3 separate regions of the Homo sapiens genome follow, and regions 2 and 3 are each linked to region 1. The links are contacts of gene promoters, found by promoter capture Hi-C in human tissues and cell types (Jung and others, 2019). All regions are on one chromosome and are shown on one strand. Each heading gives the region's core, a stretch centred on a gene start or on the middle of the fragment in contact. The rest is flanking DNA. Distances are from core to core; before and after follow the strand shown. Region 1 holds the start of SLC41A2 (solute carrier family 41 member 2). Region 2 overlaps CHST11 (carbohydrate sulfotransferase 11). Region 3 overlaps CHST11 (carbohydrate sulfotransferase 11).

The links. Contacts are between HindIII fragments. The study calls those that stand out against the background at their distance.
Region 2: a fragment that was not itself captured here is called in contact with the fragment with the promoter of SLC41A2 in region 1 in 1 of the 25 tissues and cell types used here (spleen).
Region 3: a contact is called between a fragment that was not itself captured here and the fragment with the promoter of SLC41A2 in region 1, in 1 of the 25 tissues and cell types used here (mesenchymal stem cells).

What each region holds. Positions count from the first base shown.
Region 1 is chr12:104,955,970-104,960,475 of GRCh38, forward strand. SLC41A2 (solute carrier family 41 member 2) reads right to left here and starts at 2,321. Exons shown (of 11, transcript NM_001352171.3): 1 at 2,119-2,321. RefSeq lists silencers at 1,710-2,039, 2,230-2,499. The HindIII fragment of the contact is 10,569 bases long and covers 1-3,711 here.
Region 2 is chr12:104,516,926-104,521,431 of GRCh38, forward strand. The region is part of intron 1 of CHST11 (carbohydrate sulfotransferase 11); the gene reads left to right. Among named protein-coding and RNA genes, the nearest start is that of CHST11, 62 kb to the left of the region's middle. RefSeq lists an enhancer at 3,525-3,574. The HindIII fragment of the contact is 9,493 bases long and covers 1-4,506 here.
Region 3 is chr12:104,612,274-104,616,779 of GRCh38, forward strand. The region is part of intron 2 of CHST11 (carbohydrate sulfotransferase 11); the gene reads left to right. Among named protein-coding and RNA genes, the nearest start is that of MIR3922, 23 kb to the left of the region's middle. The HindIII fragment of the contact is 4,840 bases long and covers 323-4,506 here.

The DNA of each region.
Region 1 (4,506 bases), core at 1,071-3,570:
AAGTTAAACATAAATTTTTGAGTGATTTGTGCTTGCCATTTATTGTTAGTTTGTTCAGCTGGCCACTAATATAAATTTTTTGTAATTAAAGTGATAACTGGGATTTTCAAATTGAGCATAGAATATATGAAAATACCAATTAAGGGTGGTCTCTCTTGACTCCAGTCAGGAATATGCCTTCTGTAGCTTTGCTCAAAATACCAGGGCAGTAAATGTAAAGGGGTCAGTAAGATGTCCAGAATGAACAGGTAGGGTATTCTTAAAGAATGAAGTGGCACTTATTCAACCTTTACCCAAGAATAAGCATTAAGTTTTTCGGTATCAGATTGGTTGGATTTTTTCAAGTCAGTGCCAGTATCCAAACCTATTAACAGAAATTTTTTTCCATAAATGAACAATAAAACTCAATAAAAAGCTAAGCAACCCAGACTGGCCGTGGTGGCTTATGCCTGTAATCCCAGCACTTTGGGAAGCCGAGGTGGGCAGATCACTTGAATTCAGGAGTTGGAGACCAACCTGGCCAACATGGTGAAACCACGTCTCTACTAAAAATACAAAAATTAGCCGGGCATAGTGGTGTGTGCCTGTAGTCCCAGCTACTTGGGAGGCTGAGGCAGGAGAATCGCTTGAACCCCGGAGGTGGAGGTTGCAGTGAGCCAAGATTGTGCCACTGCACTCCAGCCTGGGTGACAGACTGAGAGTCAGTCTCCAAATAAATAAATAAATAAATAAATAAAAATAAAAAGCCAAGCAACCCAATTAAAATATGGGTAAAAGATATGAACATTTTCTCCAAAGAAAATATATGAATGGCCAATAAGCACATGAAAAGATGCTCAGCATCCCCAATCATTAGAGAAATGCAAATCAAAACCACAAAGAGATACCATTCCACACTCACTACGATGGCTATCATAAAAAATAACCAGTAAAAAAGTAACAAGCCTTGGGGAAGATGTGAAGAAATCGGAACCCTCATACACTGCTTAGTGGGAAAGTAAAATGGTACAGCTGCTTTGCTTGGCAGTTCCTCAAAAAGTGAAACACGGAGCAATTGCCCTCCTAGGTATATACCCAAGAGCACTGAAAACACATGTCCACAAAAACGTGTAAACAAATGTGCATAGCAGCATTACACACAATGGCCAAAAACTGGAAACAACCCAAATGTACATCAACTGATGAATAAACAAATGTGGTACACTGATACAACAATATTAATATGCTATAAAAAGTAAAGTACTGATACATACTACATGAGTGAAACTTGAAAACATTACAGTATGTCTTTCGACGCCAGACACAAAAAGCCACATATTGTACGCTTCCATTTATATGAGATTTCCACAACAGGCAAACCCATATAAACAGAAAGTAGATTAGTGGTGGCTAGTGGGGTGGGGTCAAGGGGAAATGAGGAGTGATTACTAAGAGAGACAGGGTTTCTTTTGGGGATGATGATCTGGATAGTGGTCATATTTGGAAAACTCTGTGAATATATTAAAAGCCACACTTTAGAAGAATGAGTTTTATGGCATGTGATGTATATCTCAATTTAAAAATTGTCACTACAAAAAAAAGATGACATATATACGTAATATACACATCAATGTATATCGGTAACACATAGATATGTGTCATCTCTCTCTGTAAATGAGCATTTGGGCTTTTAAATTTGAGATATGCTCCGTGTATATAAAGAGAAGAATGAAAGAAAAGGGTGACGGGGCACTCGCGGAGCCCTGAACAGGCATCTGGGGTGTGCCCGAGCCAGCCTCGCAGCATCTCCATCCCAGCTCACCTTCAGCCATCACTCATACACCACCCGCCGCCTGTCCCTGCCTTGGGCGCCCGGGACCGCTTGTCCGCGGTGGCCGCGGAACAGCTTCCCTCAGCCCGAGGTGGGGCAGGCGCGGGGGCCTGGGCTCGGGCGCTGCCCGGCGGCCCGGAGAGGCGTCCGCAGGGGGCACGGCTGCTCGGGCGGGGCCGCTCCCTCTGCTCCCCGCGCCCCCGCCGCCGGGTCCCGAGCCCAGGCCTCTCGGCCCCACCTCCCTCCCGCACCTGATGCGCCCGAACGCGGCGCCGCGGCCGAAGCCGAGACTTCCCCTCCATGGTCACCTGTTCCGGAGCGCGGCGGCGGCAGCGGCCGGTGTGAGAAGGGTCCCCGTCTCCTCAGACCAGACCGAGACACCAGGGGCGGGGGATGGAAGGGGCATTCACCTGGTGCCCGGCACCGGTGGTGGCGGGGAGGACAGCGGCTCCCAGCCCACAGCTCCTTCCTGCTCCCGCGCCTCCTCGCGCGGCTGCGGCCCCAAGCTGACAGCCCGGCCGTCGGCGCCCGCGGCCCCCTGACTCCCCGCCGCCCCGCCCCCGCGCGGCAGCCCCGCGCAAGCGCAGCCGCGCCGCCGCCGGGGAAGCCCGGGCCTTGGTGATGTGGCCCGCGGGGCGGCGACCCGGAGCGACAGCACCGCCCCGCCCGGACCCCGGCCGCGCCCTGGCAGACAGCTGTCGGGAACGGGGGCGCTGGATGACGGCAAGGGGGCAGTTTTCTGGGGAGCCTGCCCAGGAGAGAAGGGCTGTGGCCTCCTTCGGCATCCCTCTTCCCCACCAGCCCACGCACGCCCACTTCACCGCCTGCTCCAAGGTCCGAACCCCCGAATCCATGACTCATGATTTCTCTTCTCAGACCAGCGGCCTCTTTTTGGCTGAGGTCATGTTTCTTGCAGACTGGAGTTAAAACCGAACCACGTGTCTTTCGGCCCAGCAGCGCATAGTGTGGGCGGTGCAGGAGCCGAGACGGGCAGGAACCACCGCAGGAGGGGGTGAGGTTTAGGGCAGCCCCATAGCACCCTCCCCGTGCCAGGCAGGTGTAGGCGCCAAGCGCATGGGGCGCTGAAGAGTTGGCTGGGGTGCCAGGCTTTTCAAGTTTCCCCACACTTGCTTTTAAACCTAGATCAAACTGATCCAAAGTCTGCATGTAAATCCGAGAGCTCATTTATTTTATTTACAAAACTATTGAGCATCTACTGTGTATGATTCAGGGAATGAGACACACCCCAGGGATACTCCAGTGAACAAAAGAAAGGTGTTGGTCCGAAGACAGTTATTTTAAAAATTACACAGCTAATGCCATAATGCCAGGATTGGTGGCTCATGCGTGTAACCTCAACACTTCGGGAGGACCAGGCGAGAGGATCGCTTGAGGCCAGGAATTTGAGACCAGCCTGGGCAAACACAGCGAGACCTGGAGTGGCTAGGAGACTGAGGTGGGAGGATCGCCTGAGCCCAGGAGTTCAAGGCTGCAGCGGGCTATGATCGCATCACTGCACTCCAGTCTGGGCCACAAAATGAGACCTTGTCTCTAAAACAACAACTCAAAATTACACAGCTAATGATACTCTTTTCCTCAAATCAAAGCTTCTACCAATTCCAAGCCACACCAGTGATTTAGTAGCAGCTTTTCTGGTGCTGAAGGACACCAGCATACATTTATCCATGTTCTTTTTTTTTTTCCTTATGCTTTGCGATCAGACTTTGAGCTTTAACCTTAACCTTCAGGGTGAAGGGTGCTTCGGTATCACTCTTGGCCATCTGCAGTCATGCTTTTTATAATGACTCATCCTGGTGTTCCTCACCACCTAAAAATGAAAGTATAATTGCAAGGAATATGGAAAAGCAGTGTTTTGACTGCATTTCCAGCTGGTTTTTGTTCTGGTTGTTTTTTGAATTACAGATCATTAGAAAGTAGCTGCTCTTGAAAGTTTGGCAGAAGTTCCACCCAATATGTGTTCCTCCCCTGAGTGTGTAGTCTTTCAAGATTTCTACACAAAGCATATACAGAAGCCAGCCTGTCTTGGTTTTGAAAATTCTTCCACCATTTTTTTCTGAGAGAGCTGGTGGTTTCTACCGTCCTTCAGAGCATTACATGGCATGTGGCAGGCAACCTTCTACTTACATTCTTCATTCAGTACCGCAAAGTAGTGTGTACTTTGGAGATATGTTAAGCTTCAAGTTGGAATCCAAATTTAAATCAAATTTCAGCCCTGAAAATAACTCACATTGGAATCGGGCGAGGAAATGCCCCCTTGTAAAAAACTGGGTCCTAATGGGTGCAGACAACAACAATCCCATTTCTACTTCATCTCCCGTCTGACAGCTGGCAACTTCAAATGTGAAGCAAGTGGCTTGGACTTGAGGCTGTGTGGTGATGCTGTTGTGATTGCTGGAAAAAAGCCTGAGAGTTATGAGAGTGTATAACAAAGGAGCGTGTCTGTGCTAGGGGGTAAGAAAGATCTCCTGGAGGAAGTGACATTTAATCTCAGCCTTGAAGAATAAGGAGGAGTTAGGGCAGGCAACATAGAGAAGGGGGTGGGGTGGGCAGTGCATTTAGCTGTGGAAACTGCAGGTTTGAAGGCCCTTTGGTAGGAAGAGGCTCTGTCTGTGAAGGCTTTGGGAAAAGGCCACTGTGCTTAGACTGAGAGAGCTACCTGGGAGGGAGAGGTGGGC
Region 2 (4,506 bases), core at 1,143-3,642, 440 kb before region 1:
GTTCCTGTTTGTTCTTCCTTCTAGAGTTACGAATGGTAAAAAGGCAATAACTGATGTTTACTGAGCACTTCTTATGTGCTCTAAGCTCTCTTCATGCATTCTCTTTCCCCCCTTCCAAATCCTCTCCATCATAGCTGTTACTGCCACTTAAAGATGAAGGAAGAGCCTTGAGAGGTTTAGTAACATTCCCAGGCTGAGTGGTTAAGTAACTGGGGGAAGCTGGAATTTGATCTCTGCAGCCTTTTTTGTCTGTAAAATCTTGGGTGCACTGTAAGAGAAGCCCAAGAATTGTCCAGCGAAATTAAAACTGCACCCCAAAGTTCAGCGCCTGGGCTCCATCCTCAGAGCCTTTTATTGCACCCGCGCTTGGATGGGTGTCTTGAAGCCGATTTAATCCTGGTCTGTCTACACAGGGGAGCAGCAAGCTGTTGACAGCCTCATTTTATGGTCATCAGTGCCCTCTTCCTTCTGAAGCTTGTCAATTTTAATGTCTGGAGAACCAGGGGGTGGTGTAGGGGCTTCCAGACCCCTGTTTGCAATCATCACTTGTACACCAGAGCTTCTCACACTTAGATGCATGTGGAATTCCCTGGGGTTGGAGTTAAGTTGCAGGTTGTGATTCCATAGGCCTGGCCTGGGGTCTGATCCTGCATTTGTAACCAGCTCCCGGGTGATGATGTGGAGGTGGGTGTCCTCTGGCCACACTGAAGTCCCTAGTTCTAGATGCCATCACCCTCACCCTACTTCAGAGGCTGTACCAAATTCTTAGAAGAGAAATTTTGCCTCAAAAGCGACCTGGGAACCTGACCTCAGGAAGAATTTCATCTCTGTGGGAATGTGGAATCGGAGTGATAGAGGTGAATGACAAGGATGTGGTGTTCCTTAAGCTGACTCCTGATGAGCTTGGCGAAATGAAGCCAGACATTTTATAATTGGTCCCTTTTCTTTGTGTAGTGTCTAACACTTTTTGAATACCTACTGCATGTCAGTGCCTTTTCCCACTGAGGATCGTACTGGATAACTTTGGATCTAAGGTCGCTTTGGCAGTGAGAAGTTCCCGCCTCTGAGTCAAGACCACCTTTGAGTCCAGAAATGGTGGCTCACGCCTGTAATCCCAGCACTTTAGGAAGCTGAGGTGGGAGCTTGGCCCAGGAGCTCAAGACCAGCCTGGGCAACATAGTGAGACCCTTACTTGACAAAAAAATAAAAAAATTAGCCAGGCGCAGTGGCACGTGCCTGTAGTCCCCGCTACGTGGGAGGCTGAGGCGGGAGGATTGCTTGAGCCCAGGAGTTCAAGACTGCAGTGAGCCATGATTGTGCCACTGCACTTCAGCCTGGGTGAGAGAGCGAGACCCTGTCTCAAAAAAATAAACATAAAAATAAAGACCACCTTTGAGTTAGCAAGTATGACAGGAGCGCGTGAGTAGGAAGGAGGGAAGATTCGGATGATACACATGTTATCATGCTGTATTTCCTTCACTAATTATATGGGCTCGGTAAGGGATATTCAGAGGTTGTCAGTTGCCTTTGTGCCAGATTCAGTTGGACTCTGATAAAGACCTAGGCAAATACGATGTCTGTGCACCGTGTTCTGGGAAGCACTTTGAAGGACCCCGGGCAGATTCACTGGCATAGTTAATACACCCCGGACTTTCCCTCGCCCTGCATATGGTGGCTTATGAGAAGAAAGCGAAGACTAGAAAATCATTTGTGTGTCACTTTGCAGGAAAAACACTTCAGGTAATGAGACAGGATTTGAGTGGGAAGGTGATTATAACCAACCCTTCATTCATTTTCTACAAAATAGTCAACATGCAGTCTTCCAAGCTGCATAATGAATATAGCATCCTTTAGCTGGGGATGTTGGGAGGATTTATTTTTTATCTGTGATCCAATATTAATTTGCCTTAAACAAAAGAAGCAATTTACTGTGTAATTCTGAGGTTTATGGTGTTTCTACTAAGTCCTTTCATCTTTGAAAGATGGTGTTATGCATTTTAATAGAAACCATTTTTTTCTTAAAATCTTTTCTTTTTCTTTTTTTCTTTCTTTTTTTTTTTTTTTAACTCTTTCTTCTCTTCAGTCGGATTATAGAGTTGGAGCAAATGTCATGATGAACTTTGAGGCCTAGGCCTGGACTCTTGAGGTGTGTGTGTGTGTGTGTGTGTGTGTGTGTGTGTTTCTTTCTCCATAATAGTCCCAACCCTAAACAGGGGTATGGCACAGTACTTCTTATGAACAAAAGTGCTATTGGTCTACAAGGGGACTTGAGCCTGCACTAATTGTATTTGATTAGGATTTTTGTGCTGTCTGTATGATGTTTAACCACACTGTCAATTACAGACTTCCTTTAAGGAATTTCCAGGAAACCCCCTTACCATAAGAGTTTAAATTAATAGTTTGCTAGTTTAATGACAGCAGTTGGTAAAGGAAGCACCTTTCAGACCATTAGCTAAAGCCAACTTCCTTTAAACTTAAAGGAGGGCACAGCATGATAGATGGAGATCTGCCCCAGTGCGTCATCATAAATGCCTCGAGGCAGCCACAGGATGGGTTTTGACCTCAGTGGGGATAGGTTTGGTTAGAGGGTTGGGTAGAACCCCCTAACCTGTAGAAGAATCTAGAAAAGTGAGATGAACGCCTTTCTCTTAAGGCTGTCACTTGTCCAATTCCAACTCCCTCTTTAGTAACCACCTCCCTGCCTCCCAGCGAAGTGACCCCAGGGAGCCGGTTATTATGGCCCTGCTTGATGGATAATTACTGGTTGAGGCTTGATTTGACACCAGCATTTTGCATGATAGCCTGTTAGATTTGCTTGGCTCAGATTGATATTTTCATTCCTCTAAGGCTGCAGCATGGAAACATGGTTGAGTGGGGTTTGCCAAGATGGGATGATTTCCTGTGCTGTGGCAGGACCAGGACAGCTGTTCTGAGAACTGTTTCGGCAAAGCCTTCACAGTTGGTTTTGTTGAAGGCTTTTCTGCAGGTGCAGGGTTGGTTCCTAAAGGACAGTAGTCTGGTTTTCCTAGGAAACTACTTATGGAGAGTGCGTGTGTTTAATTTAGGAGGCACAGCTGTGCAAGGGACTGGGACTCCATCAGGGAACGGGGTGCAGGAGCTCCATGTTCCTTATGTCTTAGCTTCATTCCTAGTTGCTGGCGTCGGAACTGATCAAAGTTGTCTGTTGTCTTTCTGCACACCCATGCTACAGGCAGTAAGGGATGAGGCAGCAAAACCAGTTCACTGCTCATCAGCTGGGGAGGCTTCAGGACAGTCTCTGAACTACTGAGCATTAGTTTCTTTATCTGTCCAATGGGCCCAATGGCACCTGCTCTGCTCATCTCTCAGGATCTTACATGCCACATAAGCTAATGGAGAAGTAAATGCTTTATAAGCCTAAAGGAATGGACATGGGTGCATTCAGTGAGAGGCAGTAGGACTAATGGTTAGTGATTAGTTTGCTAAGTAGGAGCAGCAGTTGTTAGTGTAAGAAGGGCGGGTTAGTACATGGGTGGTGGTCAGGAGGAGCACCACTGCTGCTGCTACTTAGCCACTTGTGTAACCTTTTTTTTTAAACAAAACAAAACAAAAAAAAACAAACCTCTCAGTCTGCTATAGGATAGATTGTTCCAGCATCTGAAATTGCAAAGCACTTCTTGAAGGGGATTCTTAGGATGGCGTAATTTTGTTCACTCATAGGATCTTCTTCCTGGGGCATGATCCTAGCCATGTTCAGGATAAGCCCTGAGCATCAAGCTGGTGCAGTGAAGTGTTCTGTGGCTGGAGGCTAAATCTGTCCCAGGCTCACAGCATGGGAGCGGGGATGGCAGGGGCTTTTGAATTCCCTTGAGGGCACTTGGCCTTTGCTTGTATCTGCTCAGGAAGTCAGACAGTCTGCAGCCAGTGGCGTGTGCAGCCACCCCTTCTGTTCTCTGACCCTGGAGGCTTGTGGTCCATTTGTTTTAAAGGTGACTGTCTGATATTCCTTTGGAATACGTGAGTCCGGTGGGAAAGAATAGAACATATTCTGAATCTTAATGGTGGATTTAAAAAATCTATTTAGAGAATCTGAGCACTTAATTAGACATGTCTTTTTTTCCCCAGCTGCCCTAATTAAATAGTAATCATAATAAGGATAAGGATAATAGTTGATCTCAGTATCCTGTCTCCCAGTGAAGTTGCTCAATACATATTTGTAGATGAATGACTTGGAGATCCAAAGGAAGGTTCAGAGATTTGCCATTGTATTCGAGTCTACCCTGGTGGGACCTTTAAGGTGAACATTCTTCTTCTCTGGGCCTCCACCTTTTCCCTTCCCATATAACTATTTTCTCCTTATCTGCATGCTTTTCTGCAATGCATATCCGCAACAGGTGAGCCTGGGTGAATATGATTACATGCAGGTTGGTTTTTCTCCCTTCTTTGTGGTCCGCGTTTTGGGATTAAATCCCCCTGCAGACTTTTGTCTGGTCAGCCTGGTTGTGACTGTGGATCTTGGTTTCGTAT
Region 3 (4,506 bases), core at 1,493-3,992, 340 kb before region 1:
GCAGGATTGGTTCCTTCTGAGGGCCGTGAAGAAGGGCCTGTTCCAGGCCTGTCTGTTAGCTTCCTGGTTTGAGGGTGATCTTTGGCTTCCTTGCTCTGATTGCTGCCTTCATCTTCACATGGTGCTCCCCCTGTGTGGGTGCCTGGCTTTGTGTCCACATTTCCCCTTGTTATAAGGACACCTGTCATATTGGAGTAGGGGCCCACTGACTCCAGTATGACCTCATCTTAGCTAATTACATCTGTAATGACCCTATTTCCAAATAAGGTCACATTTGAAGGTGCTGGGGTGAGAACTTCAACTTACAGATTTTGGAGGGGACACAATTCAATCCCTAGTGCTTACTGTGTGTGTCGTGTTCTGCTAGATGCTACGGCTTTTGAGATAAAAGTCCTTCTGTTAGCAAAGATAAAGGATCAGGGTTGGCAGGGACATGGAGAAGAGGGAACTCCTGTGCACTGTTGGTGGGAATGTAAATTGGTACAGCCATTATGGAAAACAGTATGGAGGTTCTCCAAGAAATTAAAAACAGAACTACCATATGATCCAGCAATCCCACTTCTGGGTGTATGCCCAAAGGAAGTGCAAGCAGCATCTGAAACAGACACCAGCACTCTCACTGTAGCAGAGTTGCAGCATTGTTCACAACAGTAAGATACGGAATCAGGCTGGGCGCGGTGGCTCATGCCTGTAATCCCAGCACTTTGGGAGGCTGAGGCAGCCAGATTGCTTGAGGCCCAGGAGTTTGAGACCAGCCTGGGCAACATGGCAAAACCCTGTCTCTACAAAAAATATAATAAAATTAGCCAGGCATGGTGGCACGTGCCTGTAGCCCCAGGTACCCGAGAGACTGAGGGAGGTCAGGTTGAGGCTGCAGTAAGCCATGATCATGCCACTGCTCCCCAGCTTGGGGAGACCCTGTCTCAAAAAGAAAAAAAAAAGATACAGAATCAACTTACATGTCCATCAATGGATGAATGGATAAAGAAAATGTGAGTGAGATAGATAGATAGATAGATATAGATATATAGATACATATAAAAGGAATGTTATTTAGCCTTAAAAAAGAGGGAAGTTTTCAGCCCTTGGTTACAACATGGGTGAACCTGGGGGGACTGATATGGTTTGGATTTGTGTCACCCCCGTCCCCAAATCTCATGTCGAATTGTAGTCCCCAGTGTTGGAGGAGGGACCTGGTGGGAGGTGATTGGATCATGGGGTGGATTTCCCCCTTGCTGTTCTCATGATAGTGAGTGAGTTCTCATGGGAATTGGTTGTTTGAAAGTGTGTAGCACCTCCCCCTTCTCTCTCTTCCTCCTGCTCTGGCCATGTAAGATGTGCCTGCTTCCCCTTCGCCTTCTACCATGATTGTAACTTTCCTGAGGCCTCCCCAGCCATGCTTCCTGTACAGCCTGTGGAACCAATGAAACCTCTTTTCTTTGTAAATTACTCAGTCTCAGGTAGTTCTTTATAGCAGTGCAAGAATGGACTAATACAGGGACAGTATGCTAAGTGAAATAAGCCAGGCACAGAAAGACAAATACCGCATGATCTCACTTATATGTAGAATCTAAAAAGGTTGAACTGGTAGAAGCAGAGAGCAGAATGGTTACCAGAGGTGGTGAAAACAGGGAGATGTTGGTCAAGGGGTACAAAGTTTCATTAGATAGAATGAATAAATTCTGGAGATCTAATGCACAGCTTGATGACTATGGTTAATAATAATATATTGTAGACTTGAAATCTGCTAGGAAAGCAGATCTTAAATGTTCTGACTACACGAAAAATGATAACTATGTGAGGTGATAGATGTGTTACTTAGCTTGATTGTGGTCATCACTTTCACTATCTATCTCTCTATCTAAGCATCATGTTGTATACCATGAATATATATAATTTTTATTTGCCAAATTAACCTCAATAAGTCTGGGGAAGTTTGTGCTCTAATTGGGGTGTCAAGCCAGTAAACTGACTGACCATTATAAAATGAGGTCCTGGCCAGACGCAGTGGCTCATGCCTGTAATCCCTACACTTTGGGAGTCTGAGGTGGGAGGATGACAAGAGTTTGAGACCAGCCTGGGCCAGATGGCAAGATCCTGTCTCTACAAAAAATTTAAGAATTAGCTGGGCATGGTGTTGTGCACCAATTGTTCCAGCTGACTCGGGAGGCTGAGACGGGAGGATCCCCTGAGCCCAGGAATTCAAGGCAACAGTGAGCTATGATTGTGCCACTGCTCTCCAGCCTGGTTGGATTTTTTTTTGATTAAAAAAATTTAAAAAATTATAAAATGATGTCCTATATGAGTTTAATACATGACGTTGGAGGAGCATAGAGATAGACCTAGACTAGGCATGTGTATGTGTGTGTGTGCATGTGTGTATGCATGCATGCTTATGCATGTGTGTGTGCATGCATGCTTGTGTGTGTGTGTGTGTGTGTGTAGAGCCTTGGTCATCCCGACAGAGCAAAGACACAGGAGGGTGGCACACGGAAGAACAAGTGACTCCACCCTCCCTTGCACAGTTAAAATCTGGCCAAGGTGAGAGGGGAGATGGGAGAGGGGAGAGGGGAGAAAGGAGAAGAGGCACTGACTGGAGGGGCTGAAGCTTTGTCCCTCCTGGGCAGGCGTTCTCCATCCACACCCCTCTTCTTGGATAGAGAGGATAAGCAGGCCAAAGATGCACGAAACCTGAGTTCCACTGTAGCTCCAGACTTCTAGAAAAGTCAACAGCCCCTGTATCTCTAGCTGATCCTCTGTTGTTCAATGTCTGCATTACCGCACTGGGAGACACTTGACAGATTGGGCCTGCCGCAGGCCATAGCAGACATTGGGCAGCCCTAGAACGAAGCTGACCGTCCTTGGAATGTGCCACAGGGGTGTGACGCCCCGGCCAACTCCAGTGCTGCCTAAAATGGCCTCTTGCAACATTCCCCTCTCTTCATCTTAAATCAGGGACTTGAAGCCACAAAATGGCAAATACACAGTTCTGGCAGTCGTTTTGAGTATTGGAGAAATCGCTCTGGCCATCTGTTTTGTCTCCAGCATGTTTCTCACGGAATATCCACGGATATATCCATGGATATAACAGACATCCTGCCAAGGCAGAGCTTGGCTCTTGAGAACTCGGCAAGCTCAGTGCTTGCCTGGATTCCTGCCTCATGTCCCATCCAGTGTTTGGAGAAAAGCTCTGAGAGAAAGATGAATGTCTGAGGCCACACAGCCTAGAAGTAGTCAAGAGCACAGGCTCTAGAACTAGCCCCACGTGGGCTGAAATCCCAGCACCAGCGCCTGCCGGCTGTGTGATGTAGGAGAGCTTCTTACCAGCTCTGTGCCTCACTTGTCTCACTTGTAAAATGAGAATAAGAATTGGCCGGGCTCGGTGGCTCACGCTTGTAATTCCAGCACTTCGGGAGGCTGAGGTGGGCAGATCACTTGAAGTCAGGAGTTCAAGACCAGTCTGGCCAACATGGTGGAAACCCCGTCTCTGCCAAAAATACAAAAATTAGCCAGGCGTGGTGGCGGGCACCTGCAGTCTCAGCTACTCAAAAGGCTGAAGCAGGAGAATCGCTTGAACCTGGGAAGTGGAGGCTGCAGTGAGCCAAGATCACACCACTGCACTGCAGCCTGGGTGACAGAGCAAGACTCTGTCTCAAAATAAAATAAAATAAAAATCAAAGAATAGCCCCTACCTTATTCTCTTTTGTGAGAATTTGATGAATCCGGACATGTGAAGTGCTCAGAAAGGTGTCTGGCACCAAGTGAAGGCTGTTTGCTATTTGCTGTTGTTATTGTTACTCAGGCACAAAGGCAGAGAGGAGCAAATGGTCCCTGGGAGCAAATGAGCAGGTGGAGGCTAAGATCACTTGGACAATGGAACTCCATCGTCTGCCGGATAATCTGCCATCATCTTATAAATCCACTATGTCTAAAAGAAACACCATCTTTTAGTGCAGGGGTTCACAGCTTTGGCTGTACTTTAGAAGCAAAAAAGGAAATTTAAAAAATTGCAATGCTCAGTCCACCCAATCAGTATTTTCTATAAACCCTCAATGAACAACCAAGTTTGAGAACCACCTCTCTAGGTTTTTCCTACTCAAAGACAGATCCAGGGACCAGCAACACTGACACACTTGGGAGCTTATTAGAATTACAGAATTGGCCCCCACCCCAGCCTGCCAAAGGGAAACTACATTTTTTTTTTTTTTTTGAGACGGAGTCTCACTCTGTCGCCTAGTCTGGAGTGCAGTGGCGCAATCTTGGCTCACTGCAACCTCTGCCTCCCGGGTTCAAGCGATTCTCCTGCCTCAGCCTGCTGAGTAGCAGGGACTACAGGCGCACACCACCACGCCTGGCTAATTTTTGTATTTTTAGTAGAGGCAGGGTTTCACCACATTGGCCAGGATGGTCTTGATCTCCTGACCTCATGATCCACCTGCCTTGGCCTCCCAAAGTGCTGGGATTACAGGCATGAGCCACTGTGCCCGGCCAGGAAACTTTTTAACA